Regions from separate parts of the Homo sapiens genome. Here region 2 is linked to region 1. Evidence: promoter capture Hi-C in 16 types of primary human blood cells and fetal thymus (Javierre and others, 2016). All regions are on one chromosome and are shown on one strand. The core of a region is centred on a gene start or on the middle of the fragment in contact, and the rest is flanking DNA. Distances in the headings are between cores, read along the strand shown. Region 1 holds the start of OIP5 (Opa interacting protein 5). Region 2 overlaps LOC105370943 (a long non-coding RNA gene).

What was found. The method cuts DNA at HindIII sites, captures the fragments that hold promoters and counts their contacts. A CHiCAGO score of 5 or more calls a contact.
Region 2: a fragment that was not itself captured here is called in contact with the fragment with the promoter of OIP5 in region 1 in 2 of 17 cell types (naive CD4 T cells and naive B cells); the score reaches 5.8 in naive CD4 T cells.

Annotation. Positions count from the first base shown.
Region 1 is chr15:41,328,367-41,334,990 of GRCh38, forward strand. OIP5 (Opa interacting protein 5) reads right to left here and starts at 4,225. Exons shown (of 5, transcript NM_007280.2): 1 at 3,874-4,225; 2 at 3,549-3,615. The coding sequence starts at 4,195. It overlaps NUSAP1 (nucleolar and spindle associated protein 1), which reads left to right and starts at 4,515. Exons shown (of 11, transcript NM_016359.5): 1 at 4,515-4,684. The coding sequence starts at 4,592. RefSeq lists an enhancer at 3,979-4,238. The HindIII fragment of the contact is 1,308 bases long and covers 4,103-5,410 here.
Region 2 is chr15:40,908,662-40,915,285 of GRCh38, forward strand. It overlaps LOC105370943 (a long non-coding RNA gene), which reads left to right. Exons shown (of 2, transcript NR_135836.1): 2 at 168-690. Among named protein-coding and RNA genes, the nearest start is that of DLL4, 17 kb to the right of the region's middle. The HindIII fragment of the contact is 533 bases long and covers 3,007-3,539 here.

The sequences.
Region 1 (6,624 bases), core at 2,975-5,474:
CTAGTTTAGTGACAGGTAGACAGAGGTTCATTATATTCTTCTCTCGGGTTTGAATTTGCCATAACAATTAGAAAAAAATGTACTTCACTTATAATACAAACAAAATTCCATTTAAATATGCTGTTGAGCACAACAAAAGCTCAGGGTAAAAAAGCTATTTCTAAGTGTCAACATACTATAATAATCCTTTTTAAAATTAGTTACAATAAATCCTCTACCAGTAAGAGAACAATAAAATGTAGACGGAAGTAACCTTGTATCTGTCTACTTTATGACTTTGAATCTAAGAGGTTCATGCCAATTGTAGAATGTTTAAATAAATGTCGGAGGGAGTATATTTTAGGAGTATTCAAATATGACAGATTGAGAGGGATCAATTTATTTCACATGCCTCATTAAGAGTAAAGTTAAGGCCTGGTGCGGTGGCTCACACCTGTAATCCCAGCACTTTGGGAGGCTGAGGCAGGTGGATCACAAGGTCAGAAGTTCGAGACCAGCATGGCCAACATGGTGAAACCCCGTCTCTACTAAAAATATAAAAATACAAAAATTAGCCAGGCATAGTGGCGTGCGCCTGGAATCCCAGCTACTCGGGAGGCTGAGGTAGGAGAATAGCTTGAACCCGGGAGGCGGAGGTTGCAGCGAGCCAAGATCCCGCCACTGTGCTCCAGCCTGGGTCAGAGCAAGACTCCATCTCAAAAAAAAAAAAAAAAAAAAAAAAAAAAGAATAAAAAGAACCCGAGTCTGCTGTCTCTAAAATTTATGCTCTTTTAGCTGCATCATTAATCATCCTCTTAATTCATTCTCTGACCCCATCTAGGTAATGAACCTACACTTAGAAAAAAATCAAGTTGTCTTGAGCTGTGCCATTTCATAACCCTCTTCGTAAGTCCCATATAGCTCATCTTACTCCACAAATACAGAAACACATGGGGCTTTCCCTCTAGTTTTTTTTTTTTTTTTTTTTCAGACGGAGTCTCGATCTGTCGTCCAGGCTGGAGTGTAGTGGTGCGATCTTGGCTCACTGCAACCTCTGCTTCCCAGGTTCAAGCCATTCTCCTGCCTCAGCCTCCCAAGTAGCTGGGACTATAGGCGCTTGCCACCTCGCCCCCCTAATTTTTGTACTTTTAGTAGAGACGTGGTTTCACCATACTGGCCAGGCTGGTCCCGAACTCCCGACCTTGTGATCTGCCTGCCTTGGCCTCCCAAAGTGCTGGGATTATAGGTGTAAGCCACTGCACCTGGCCTTCCTCCAGTTTTTTACAAAGCATCTAAACAAGCATTGTCTAATAGGAATATAATGTGAGTCACATATGTAATTTTAAATTTTCTATTCATTTTGCTTTTTTTTTTGAGGAAGAGTCTCGCTCTGTTGCCCAGGCTGGAGTACAGTGGGATGATCTTGGCTCACTGCAACCCCCGCCTACCAGATTCAAGCAATTCTCTGCCTCAGTCTCCCAAGTAGCTGGGATTACAGGCGCCCGCCACCACGCCCAGCTAATTTTTGTATTTCTAGTAGAAACAGTTTCACTATCTTGGCTAGGCTGGTCTTGAACTCCTGACCTCGTGATCCATCCGCCTTGGCCTCCCAAAGTGCTGGGATTACATGCATCAGCCACGGCGCCTGGCCTAATTTTGCTTTAAAAAATAAAATAAAAACAGGTGAAATTAGTTTTTAAATATTTTATTTAACCCAATATATCAAAAATGTCATTTCACCATGTAATCAATTTTTTTTTTTAAGACAGAGTTTCGCTCTCGTTGCCCAGGCTGGAGTGCAATGGCGTGAACTCGGCTCACCACAACCTCCACCTCCCGGGTTCAAGCGATTCTCCCTCCTCAGCCTCCTGGGATTACAGCCTAGCTGGGATTACAGGCATGTGCCACCATGCCCGGCTAATTTTGTATTTTTAGTAGAGACAGGGTTTCTCCATTTTGGTCAGGCTGGTCTCGAACTCCCGACCTCTGGTGATCTGCCTGTCATGGCCTCCCAAAAGTGCTGGGATTATAGGCGTAAGCCACCGCTCCCAGCCGTAATCAGTATTTTTTTTTTTTTTTTTTTGATACGGAGTCTGTCGCCCAGGCTGGAATGCAGTGGCGCAATCTCGGTCACTGCAAGCTCCGCCTCCCGGGTTCACGCCATTCTCCTGCCTCAGTCTCCTGAGTAGCTGGGACTACAGGCGCCCGCCACTATGCCTGGCTAATTTTTTGTATTTTTAGTAGAGACACGGTTTCACCGTGTTAGTCAGGATGGTCTCGATTTCCTGACCTTGTGATCCGCCCGCCTCGGCCTCCCAAAGTGCTGTGATTACAGGTGTGAGCCACCACGCCCGGCCCGTAATCAGTATTTGTAAATGATTAATTTTTCTGTACTAAGTCTTTGAAATCCAGTGTGTATTCTGTGTTCACAGCATATCTCAATGCAGATTTAATAATATATAATAGCTACATATGACTAGTGATTACAGTATAGGACAGCACGGGTCTAGATTCATTAGCCTCCTCTCCAAGAGCACATTCAGGAACCTTCTGCCTCTGGCCCCAGAATACACCCAATTCCAAGCAGGCAATTGCTCCTTCTTGCTTTGTCCCCTTTGGGTGGGAAGGGGACTCCTATAGCGATAGGGAGTGTCTTTTATTCAGGAAAAAGAAAGGGAGCTGTGGGTCTAACTCCGTTTTTGAAGTTTGTCCAAGCTGCAGAAATCTTCCTGGTTACTGGACAAAGCAACTAAGAATTCCTATATTTTAACCGTAACGTTGAATCAAACTGGTCAGAATGAAATGAATTGTCTCAATGTTAAAGCCAAAACTCAAAATTGAGGAGCCTTGCAATACCAAATTCACTGACTACTTTATTGTCACTTGTAAATCATAGTACAGGCAGGTCGCAAAGTTTACCAGGCAGTATTCAAGTACATAACATTCTAGTTGTGTTTTTCTCCAGTTTCTGGGGTTACTGAAGAATTAGCCCTGGCATAGCTTATTACAAACTAACCATAATCGCAAACTTAAAAGTTCTAATATCAAGCGTGGGCAACATACTAAGGCCTCTACAAAAAATTTAAAAATTAGCCGGGAGTGGTGCTGTGTGCCTGTAGTCCCAGCTACTCCGGAGGGTGAGGTTGGGAGGATAGCTTGAGCCAGGAAGGTAGGGGCTGTAGTGAGCTATGAGCGCACCAGTGCACTCCAGCCTGGGCGAGAGCAAGACCCTGTATCAAAAAGTTCTAATATCTAAAAGGATTGTAGTTTATAGTATGTTATTCTCACTGTAAACCAAAAGGTTATTTTTTTCTTTTGTCCACTACTAGATACATCTTTCTTAGCCTCACTTCACTTGTACAAGCCACCTGGGAGAAGTGGCCCTCAGGAAGATCCTAAAACCAATACACAAATACAACTTTTTCATTTCATTAATACATCAAGTTCATATAAGAGTCAAACAGGTAAAAGCAGCATCCCAAACTGTTTTCTCCTCGTACATGTCAGTTCCACGATCCTCAGTCTCATAAAGTCAGGGACTAGAGACCAATGTAATTATCAATACGTACCTGCCTTTGAGTGAACCTTCAATGCCAACTAGGAAGGGCGCTTCCAAAACGACGTTATTTGTAACTCCTAGGAAGACAAACACGGGTCAGAACCCATACTCTGCGGGCCTTGAAATGGAAAATCTCTCCTCTAGACAGACTCATCCTGGCCGTAAATATCAGGAGACTCCCCGATTCCCTGCCCCATCCCCAGGCCAAGGAGTTATTTGCTTCCAACTTTTCATCCCGTTTTCTTCCCCAGGTGGTTCTCCGCCACCCGGTGGAGAAAGCGGGAACACCCTCTCGGGCTAGCCTCTGCCTTTCCCGAACGCTTCACTGCACTCACTGGAGAAGACCACGGCCCCGAGGGACCGCGACAGGTCCCAGGCGAGGTGCACCGAGTCGGCGAGCACTGCGTGACACTGTGCGCACTGGAACACAGCGCACCTCTCAGGCTGCAGCCAAGACGGCAGCTGCGGGCCGGCGGCTGGCTCCTCAGCCCCCAGCCCTGCGGGGCCGAGCGGCGAGGACCCCTTCACCACCTGCGTATCCCACTCCATGGAGGTCGTAAAAGAAGCTTGGTCAATCGCCCTCTCAGTGCCACCACAAAAGTCCCCCCGGGGCGGCGTTGCACAACGTGAGCGATGCCGCAGCGGCTGAGCCGCCATCTTCCCGCAGCCGGCGCCTTCCTTTCGAATACACGCCAGGCCCCGCCCCAAGCACAGCTCCTGCGTCCTCATTGGACATCATGGGCAATCCAAGCACTGGAGTCCGAGTCCGCGCACTCGTTACCTGAACAGGCGTTACAGGCCCTTTGGCGCCTGCGTATTCGTGAAGTGTGAAAAAAGCGCGCCTCTGTTGGGACGGGAAATCAGCCTTTCTATTGGTCAGGGTTAGAAACCCCGCCTTTGAGGCATTTTCAACCAATGGAAGCGCGGCATTCTTCATTTAAACTGTCTATAAATTTCTGCCTAGTCAAAGTTAAGAGTGGCGCCAGGGATTTGAACCGCGCTGACGAAGTTTGGTGATCCATCTTCCGAGTATCGCCGGGATTTCGAATCGCGATGATCATCCCCTCTCTAGAGGAGCTGGACTCCCTCAAGTACAGTGACCTGCAGAACTTAGCCAAGAGTCTGGGTCTCCGGGCCAACCTGAGGGTACGGCGCTGGCGGTGCGGGTCCCTGGGCGGGCGCGGCGGGAATAGCGGCCTCGGGGAGATGCGGTGCGAAGGGACCGAGAGGGAAGCCCGGGACTGAGGCAGCTCTCCCTGCCCCTCGGGCAGTAGATGTGGTTCACGGTAGTCCCAGTTAGAACTCTGATAAACGGAAGAGGAACTGTAGTTTTCACCTCATTTTGAAGCTGGCTTGTCTGGGTGCTCACATGATAAGCTCTATTCCGAGGGATGGTTTATTGTTTTTTGTTTTGTTTTGTTTTGAAATTACTGTATACCTCTCAGGGCGTCGATTACGAAACTCAGGCCCAGAAAGCACAAGGGGTGTCGTTAATCGTTAGACAATTAAGTAAATAATTGGCTCAGCTTCTGGAAAACCCCAAACAGACTCCAGTGATTTGTAATATTGCCGATAATCTCTTGATACTTTATTGATGGACCTGTCAGAAAAAAAAAATCGACTTTTAGGGGAGCACCTCCTTGGGTAAATTTTTATTGATGACTGTTGGGTTGATGGTCTCTATCAAAACCAGTAAGGTCTTTGACTCCGAGGCTACAAGATGTTTGGAGAGTTGGCCCGGCGCTGTGGCTCACGCCTGTAATCCCAGCACTTTGGGAGGTCGAGGCAGGCGGATCACCTGAGGTCAGGAGTTCGAGACCAGCCTGGCCCTTAAAAAATTAGCCGGGCGTGGTGGCACACGCCTGTGATCCAAGCTTTTTGCCTGTGATCCCAGCTACTTGGGAGGCTGAGGCAGAAGAATCGCTTGAACCTGGGAAGCCGAGGTGGCAGTGAGCCAAGATCGCACCACTGCACTCCAACTTCGGTGACAGAGAGAGACTCAGTCTCAAACAAAACAAAAACAAACAAAAAACCCAAGATGTTAGAAGAAGATTTGGGGATTTAATGTAGGATAGCGGTTTTATATATTTTGTTAATAGTTGAGACTTCCCACATAATACTGCTATATACTCTGGAGGTTTCTCCTGCAGGCTGTGATACTGACAGTGAGTAAATGCTTAAATCAATCGTCACAATTTTTTTTTTATTTGTTTGTTTGTTTGTTTTTTCTTTGAGACGGAGTCTTGCTCTGTCGCCCAGGCTGGAGTGCAGTGGCGCCATCTCGGCTCACCGCAACCTCCGCCTCCTGGGTTCAAGCGATTCTCCTGCCTCAGCCTCCTGAGTAGCTGGGATTACAGGCGCGTGTCACCACGCCTGGCTAATTTTTGTATTTTTAGTAGAGATGGGGTTTCACCATGTTGGTCAGGCTGGTCTCGAACTCCTGACTTCCTGATCCGCCCGCCTCAGCCCCCAAAGTACTGGGATTACAGGCGTGAGCCACCCCACCCGACCTAAATTGTTTAAACAAAATAATCAGGGCCTAAGTGCCTGTTGGGGCTGAATGACCAAAGGGTTTTCCTTGGGGATATTTCTGGGCTGTAGTGGTTAGTGGCTCCTCTATACTTCGTAAACAAAGCCTTAATATCTCAGCCTAAATTCCTTAGGCTTTTTTGCTGCCTAGCTAGAATCTTTTATCCAAGGCTGCATCCCTGAACACTTGGCACTTTTATCTATCTTTGTCCCATTGCTCATTTTGACCCTCTAGCCTCAGATCACCTTCTTTCTCCTTTATCTGCCTGGCTGTGTGTGTGTGTGTGTATTTTTAGTAGAGATAGGGTTTCACCATCTTGCCCAGGCTGGTCTTGAACTCCTGGGCTCAAGCGATCCTCCCGCCACGGCCTCCCGAAGTCCTGGGATTACAGGCGTGACCCACCACGCCTGGCCCATATCAAGTATTTATATGTGAATCAAGTATTTATAGGTGAAATGTTATGATACCTGTAAAATTTGCTGTAAAATACTCAAGGAAAAAGAGAGGGAAACTAGATGAAGTAAGAACAGAAGAATGTTAATAATTACTGAAACTG
Region 2 (6,624 bases), core at 2,023-4,522, 420 kb before region 1:
ATAGAAACAACACCTTGTTCTATTGCCTAGGCTGGAGTGCAGTGGCGCCATCATAGCTCACTGCAGCCTTTAATTCCTGATCTCAAGTGATCCTCCCACCCCAGGCTCCTGAGTAGCAAGGACTACAGACACCACACCTGGCTAATTTTTATTTCTATTTTTTGTAGTGACGGGGGTCTTGCTAGGTTGCCAAGGCTGGTCTTGAACTCCTGACTTCAAGCAGTCCTCCCACCTCAGCCTCCTAGGGTGTCCGGATTACAGGCATGAGCCACTGTGCCCGGCCCCCTATCACGATATCCATAAGATGCCAGGATGCCCAGGAACCGAGTTTGAAAGACATTGTGCTGCTGATCCCACCTCCTGACTTTACAGCTGCTGAATTGCAGAAGACAAATTGGTAGCTAACAGGAGGCTCCATCCTGGATCCTGCCCCTGTCCGTGAGATTCAGCCTTGATTAACTGTGTTCCCATGCTGGTCGTGAGCAGGGCACCATCCTAGGTCCTTCTTTATACTCATTTTCCATCTCCAGCCAAAATGGGTTGAACCGAGGAACAAGGACATAATCTGTAAAGAGCAAGTGCAAGTCTCTGCTCTGCCATTACCAGCATCAGGCTAATCAAGCCCTTGGAAACTCAATTTCTTCTCCTGTAAAATGTGAATAACTGTTACAGACCTGGAAAGGCTCTTGTGAGGCTGAAATGAGAGCGGTGCCGCCCATCTGTCAAGGTAGCCCAGGGCCTGGCGCCCAAGCAGCCCTGGGCACTTGCCCCTCTTCCCTTTTACTCTGCACCTCCTTTCTGTAGGCGTAGGACCCTGAGACCTGTCCCAGCTCATCCCTCACAAGGCCCTCTGACTTCTTCAGATATCAGAGTGGAATTGGAAGAAAGAAGCTTGCTTGAGTAGGTTTTTCTGGTTTCTTGAACAATGGCGATTCTAAGGAAAAGAGGTTCAGGATGAGAATGAGAGGAAGCCCACAGGCATGTAGAATATGGCCACAGGTGGGACAAGAGTGCTTCCTTGGGATGGGGGTCCTGGTTCCCTGAAGGAAAGGAGACAGGGCACTACTCCAGCTCCAGGAGTCTCATAGGACAGGCCAAGAGGGCTGGGCAGACACCATGCTGGCCGCTGATCAGGCATGACTCCTCTGCCAGCCTGCCCTCGCAGGCCAGCCCAGAACTTGCACAACAGTCGGCCTGGCTGGCACTCTCCCGGGAGCTTCAGGAAGTCCCCCTTGTCCTCCCCTTGACCTTTGACCCCTTGGGCCTGCTGCCGACCAGAATACCAGGCAGATGTTCTCTCTTTTACCTTTTGTTCCTGGTCTTTCCCTCTAAGGCTGGAACTCAGAGATACCCCAAACCCCCAGCTTCCAGCTCATCCTTCCCCATGCTCTCAGTGCGGACCAGCTGGAGCCTCCACTGGGCCGCTCTCCATGTGAGCCAGTGTGGATCCTTGGCCACAGCCGGCAGGACGCTTGCAAGTGCCCCGACTCCAGACATCCTCCCAGGTGTCCTTCCCGACTAGCTCCCTGTCCCAGGCCCCAGCAGGTGAAGCAGGAACAGCAGACAGAGCCTCCTTCCCTCCCCGGCATCCTCTGAACAGTCAAAGTTGGAAGAACCCTAGATATTGTTCCACATTAAACTATGCACGCCTCGTGGCACTCAGTTTCACAATCAAATAACTCCCTCTGGTTTTCTAGTGGAATTTCTGCTTTTATTTTATAGGGTTTCTTGGCTTCTTTTTTTTTTTTTAAGCAATCAGTCTAAATTTGTCATCACACATCCCCCATTTCCGCCCCTAAGGGCCTCCTTTTCATCCCCTGGAATCTGGAAACCATATGTGTGGGCAGAAACCCCCCAGCATCCCCCACTGCACCCTGGCCCAGCCTGGCCTCCGCAGGGATAACCGTGTTAGCTGGGGAAGAGTCTACACTCCACACTGGGGCTAGAAAGGGAGTTTCTCTTTGGACCTTCCCAGCTGAAGCCATGGAGAAGCCGTGTGGTCTAGTGGTTAGGGCTAGAACAGATGGGTTCTGTTCCCGGCAATCTCTTTGACTAACACCAGAAGCCTGGGAAAGTCCCCTTAACACCTAAGGGACTCAGTTTCCCCACCATCTGAGGGGCTCAGAGTTTCACCAGCTAGCTCATCTCCTACCCGCCTTGGTGGAAAGAGTTTTTGATCTGGAATTTCTGCTATGTCACTTACAAGCTGTTTGACCTTGACAAATTGCTTAACCTTTCTGAACCTCAATTTCCTCATCTATAAATTAGAGACTATTATCGTACCTACCACCTGGCTATTGTTGGGATTAAATAAGAAAACATATTCTCAAGGGCCTCGCACCAGACGTACTGTGAGAACTCAAGAAGCAGGCGTTGTGATTGTTAATAATAAGTAGAAAGGCACAAAGAGGTGGGAGTGTGTTCTTAGCGAGTCTGCCCCGGGCCAGACCTGTCTGCCCCTGCCTCTCCTGCTCCGGCTGACTTGTCCCAACCTTCCCTGGGCCTCCTCTGCTCTGGAAGGCAAGGATGCGTTACCAGTCATTGTGGATCAAGGCTGAGGCCTGTCTGCTCGTCCCTGTCTCCATGACGACCCCAGCCCCTCCCCTCCTTCCTTCCTCAAGAGCTTTCTGTTTACTGTAAACAGCTGCCCCAGCTCAGCCCTAGCTGATCCCCCCCACACCCAGGGCCAGCCAGACCCTCTTTGAACCCGGCCTGGACTGGTGTGAAGGTCTGCTCACTGCTTCTCGGGCTCCACAAGGCCTCAAACAAACTCTGTGTTTCCACCTTGCCTGGCCGGGAGGGGAGAGGAGGAGGGGAGGGAACTGTTACCTCAGACCAGGGCAGCCAGGGCCTCAGAGACAAGGAACAGATGGGGCGTAATGGAGGAGGACCACACCAAGAGAGTTGGGTGGAGACATCTCTGGCTTGGCCTTAGACTGACCGGGTTCAAATCCTGGCCTAGATTTGCTCACCGCATGACCTCAGGCTGGTCACTTAACTTCTCTAAGCTTCATTCAATTTATCGATTTATAAAATGGAGATAATAATACCTCCCTCAGAGGGTTGGCTGCTGGGCAGATTGGTAATAATGCATGTAAAACCCCTGGCTCAGGTCTTGACACATTGCTAGCCTACAATGGTGGTGGCTGGACTATTATTTCACTTTTCAGGTCCTCTCCTTCTGCTCAGCAACCTTGCATAAATTCCTGCCTGTTCCTTGACCTGGCATGTCTCAATCACACAGGCCTGCACATACATGTGTACTCAGCAAACATATGAGCTGGGTAATGAAATGAAAATTCACAAGCGTATCTGAGGCACAGGAGACTCAATAAGAGCAGAGGAAAAGTCTGTTTCCTAAGCCCTTCCACAGGCCTGAGCTGGGACGTCCATGTGTGCCACCATCACCAGGGCACTATGGCTTCCTCCCTCTTCCTCCATTTGGCCTCCAGGATTGCACCCACCCTCCCTGCCCAGCGGAGCGCAGTGCAGGGATAGAGGGAATGCTGTATGGGATAGCTCCCCTTTCCTGTGGGCCAAGCTTTCAGGGCAAGATGGTCTGGGATGTGGGGCTTCTGGCTCCCAGCTCCTGATGGGTCCAACTTGGCTCCCTTGACTCTCCAGCATCCTTGGAAGTGCTGGCTAATTAATGCTGCCTTGTGAGATGAGATTTAGACCTGCCATTTCGCTTACCACCAGGCCCGCCCAGCAGCCCTGGGGCAGAACCTGGGGTTAAGCAGGGGCATTCATCAATTTGAGTCATTCCCCACAAGCCCATGAGTAAGTATGGTGCTGGATTTCCAGACCCCTGTCCCCTCCCTGAGATGCCTGTTGGGGTCTTCCAGGGCTGGGTCTCTGTTGGTTGCAGGTACAGCCCTGGGGTTCTCTTGAGCAGGGCGTGGCAGCTGCAGGCTTTCAGGCCTAGCTAACTCCACTGCCCCCACATGCTCTTGCCCACAACCAGGTCTAACTCCAGCGTTTGTGTGCTCACCCCAGCCTGGCTGCATGAGAAAGGAGAGGAGCCCCCAGTACTGAAGTCAGCCCCACGGGTTGGGCTGGAAATCCCCCACTTCTTACCTTGGCTGCTTGAGGAAACAGCCTCCCGGCAGAGGGCCGCCTCCCGCCAGGGACTTTTCTCCTGGGGATGACATGGAATGCAGGGCAGCTACAAGGACCCTAGCCTCACTGAGCCACACATCAGCCAGCCTGAGGGGCAGGGGAGTGTGTCGGTCACCCAGGACCACTCTCTCCCTTGCAGGGAGCTTGGCAGCTAGGGTCCTAGAACCCCTGAGACTTACGCAGGCCTAAAGGGGGAACAGGGAGAAGGAGGCCGTGGGGACCAGTGGTGGCCAGGAATATCCAGACTGCTGCGTGGTCCTGTACCTGGAGCGCACCAGCCCCTCCTCCACACTCCCTTCCCCTACCCCAGCACCCAGCCTGAAACTGGCTTCCAATAGGATGTAAAGCCCTCACTGATCTTCCAGGATGGTGGTCTCCAGACTTTTTTTTTTTTTTTAAACAGATGGGGGTCTCACTATGTTGCCCAGGCTGGTCTTGAACTTGGGGCCTCAAGAGATTCTCCTGCCTTGGCCTCCCAAATTGCTGAGATTACAGGCGCGAGCCACTGTGTCTGGCCTCCCAAACTTTTTTGATTGTGAATATTTATGCATAGATTATACACTACAGTCAAAACACATATTAAATATTATTTATTTTAAAACATTATTTATTATTAAATATTTTATTTATTTATATATTTTTTGGAGATGGAATTTTGCTCTTGTTGCCCAGGCTGGAGTGCAGTGGGGCAGTCTCAGCTCACTGCAACCTCCGCCTCCCAGGTTCAAGCGTTTCTCCTGCCTCAGCCTCCCGAGTAGCTGAGATTACAGGCGCCCGCCACCACACCCAGCTAATTTTTTGTATTTTTAGTAGAGACTGGGTTTCACCATGTTGGCCAGGCTGGGCAGGCTGGTCTCAAACTTCTGAACTCAGGTGTTCCACCTGCCTCAGCCTCCCAAATTGTTTTTTAATTAAAAAATAAATCAAAATAGAAATCATATTTCCTCCCATCCCCCCAACAAATGCCTCACTGGCCCCATATAGGCCACTGTGGAGCCCACTGTGTAGATAGAGGAAGGCAGGAGAGCCTCTCGGAGCAGACCATCACCCTACAAGAGGATCCAGGGCCTGAGGGGGCAAATGATTTTCTTAATCCATTGCCAACCACAATCGAGTAACCCACATCTGAAGCCGTTCTATTTGTTGTTGTTAACTTGAAAAGAAACTTGGTCATCTTAGGCAAGGCCCTGTTGCTGTGGTGGTTGTGCTGCCAGTTCCTACCCCAAAGGCCCAGGCAGCCTGTCCCATCCTAGGACCGCAGCACCCAACGTAGAAAGTGAGAGTTTATCGAGGAAGAACACCCAGCCTGTGTGTGTGTGTGTGAGTGTGTGTGCGTGTGTGTGTGACTGTGAGTGTGCGACTGTGTGTGCGACTGTGTGTGTGTGACTGTGTGTGACTGTGTGTGTGTGTGCGCGACTGTGTGAGTGTGACTGTGTGTGAGTGTACGACTGTGTGTGACTGCGTGAGTGTGTGTGTGTGACTGTGAGTGTGTGTGACTGTGTGAGTGTGTGTGCGACTGTGAGTGTGTGACTGTGTGTGACTGAGTGTGACTGTGTGTGTGTGTGAGAGTGTGTGTGAGAGAGAGTGTGTGTGTGCACATGTGTATGTGTGCATGCACGTGCTGGCCCAGAGTGTGTCATTCTAACAGAACCTGCCCGGTGATGGCCTCTGCTTTCTGGTCTGCTCGTCTTGGAGGCCCCACTTGTGTCACATAGGTACTGAGACACCTGCATTAACCCTTCTGACGGAGTCATAAGAACCCCTGACATTGAATTAGAATCTTTCTCTCGTCTACATCCTCACCACATGGCTGTTTAGGTAGGTGAGGCAGGCATCAATTTGTCCATGGTGGCGGGCAGGGGGCGCCCACGGCACAGAGAGGTTTGGGGAATTGCCCAAAGTCACACCATCTAGTGGAGCTGGGTCTCGCGTGTGCTCCCACCCTTCCTAGGTGTCTTTACTCATGTTCTGCCATCCTGGTCCCACAGGGCTGCTTGACCGTTCAGAATTCTGGCCTGGGAAGAATCAGTTCCCAAGGGCCATGGGACCTCTCTCCTGCAGCTGGGGGGCAGCCTGCCCTTCCTGCCCCACTAGAGAGAAGGCAAGCCCAGGACCCTCTCCCTATCCTTGGACATGTGGGCCCGTGGATAACAATCTTCGCAGGAGCAGGGTCCCTGACGGTAGAGGAGAGAGGCCTGACTTTCCTGCCAAGGCCAGAGTTGCCCCTGGCTCCAGCTCGCCTGGCTGGATCTGGGTCCAGGGCTTCCTCCTTCATTCAAAAGCTCGGCCCTCTGAGGGTGGCAGTGGGGGAGGGGGAAGGGCTCAACCTCCAGCCCCCTCCCCCCATCACTGACAGCTGTAATCTGCTTGGGAAAATCTCTTTTTTTTTTTTTTTCTGCACAGGAAAAAATATTAGTTGTCCCGATAACAAGGAAAACAAAATCTAGCGCAGGGCATCAGAGACTTCCTGAGGCGGGAAACAATGTCCAGTGGAGAGATCAGTGG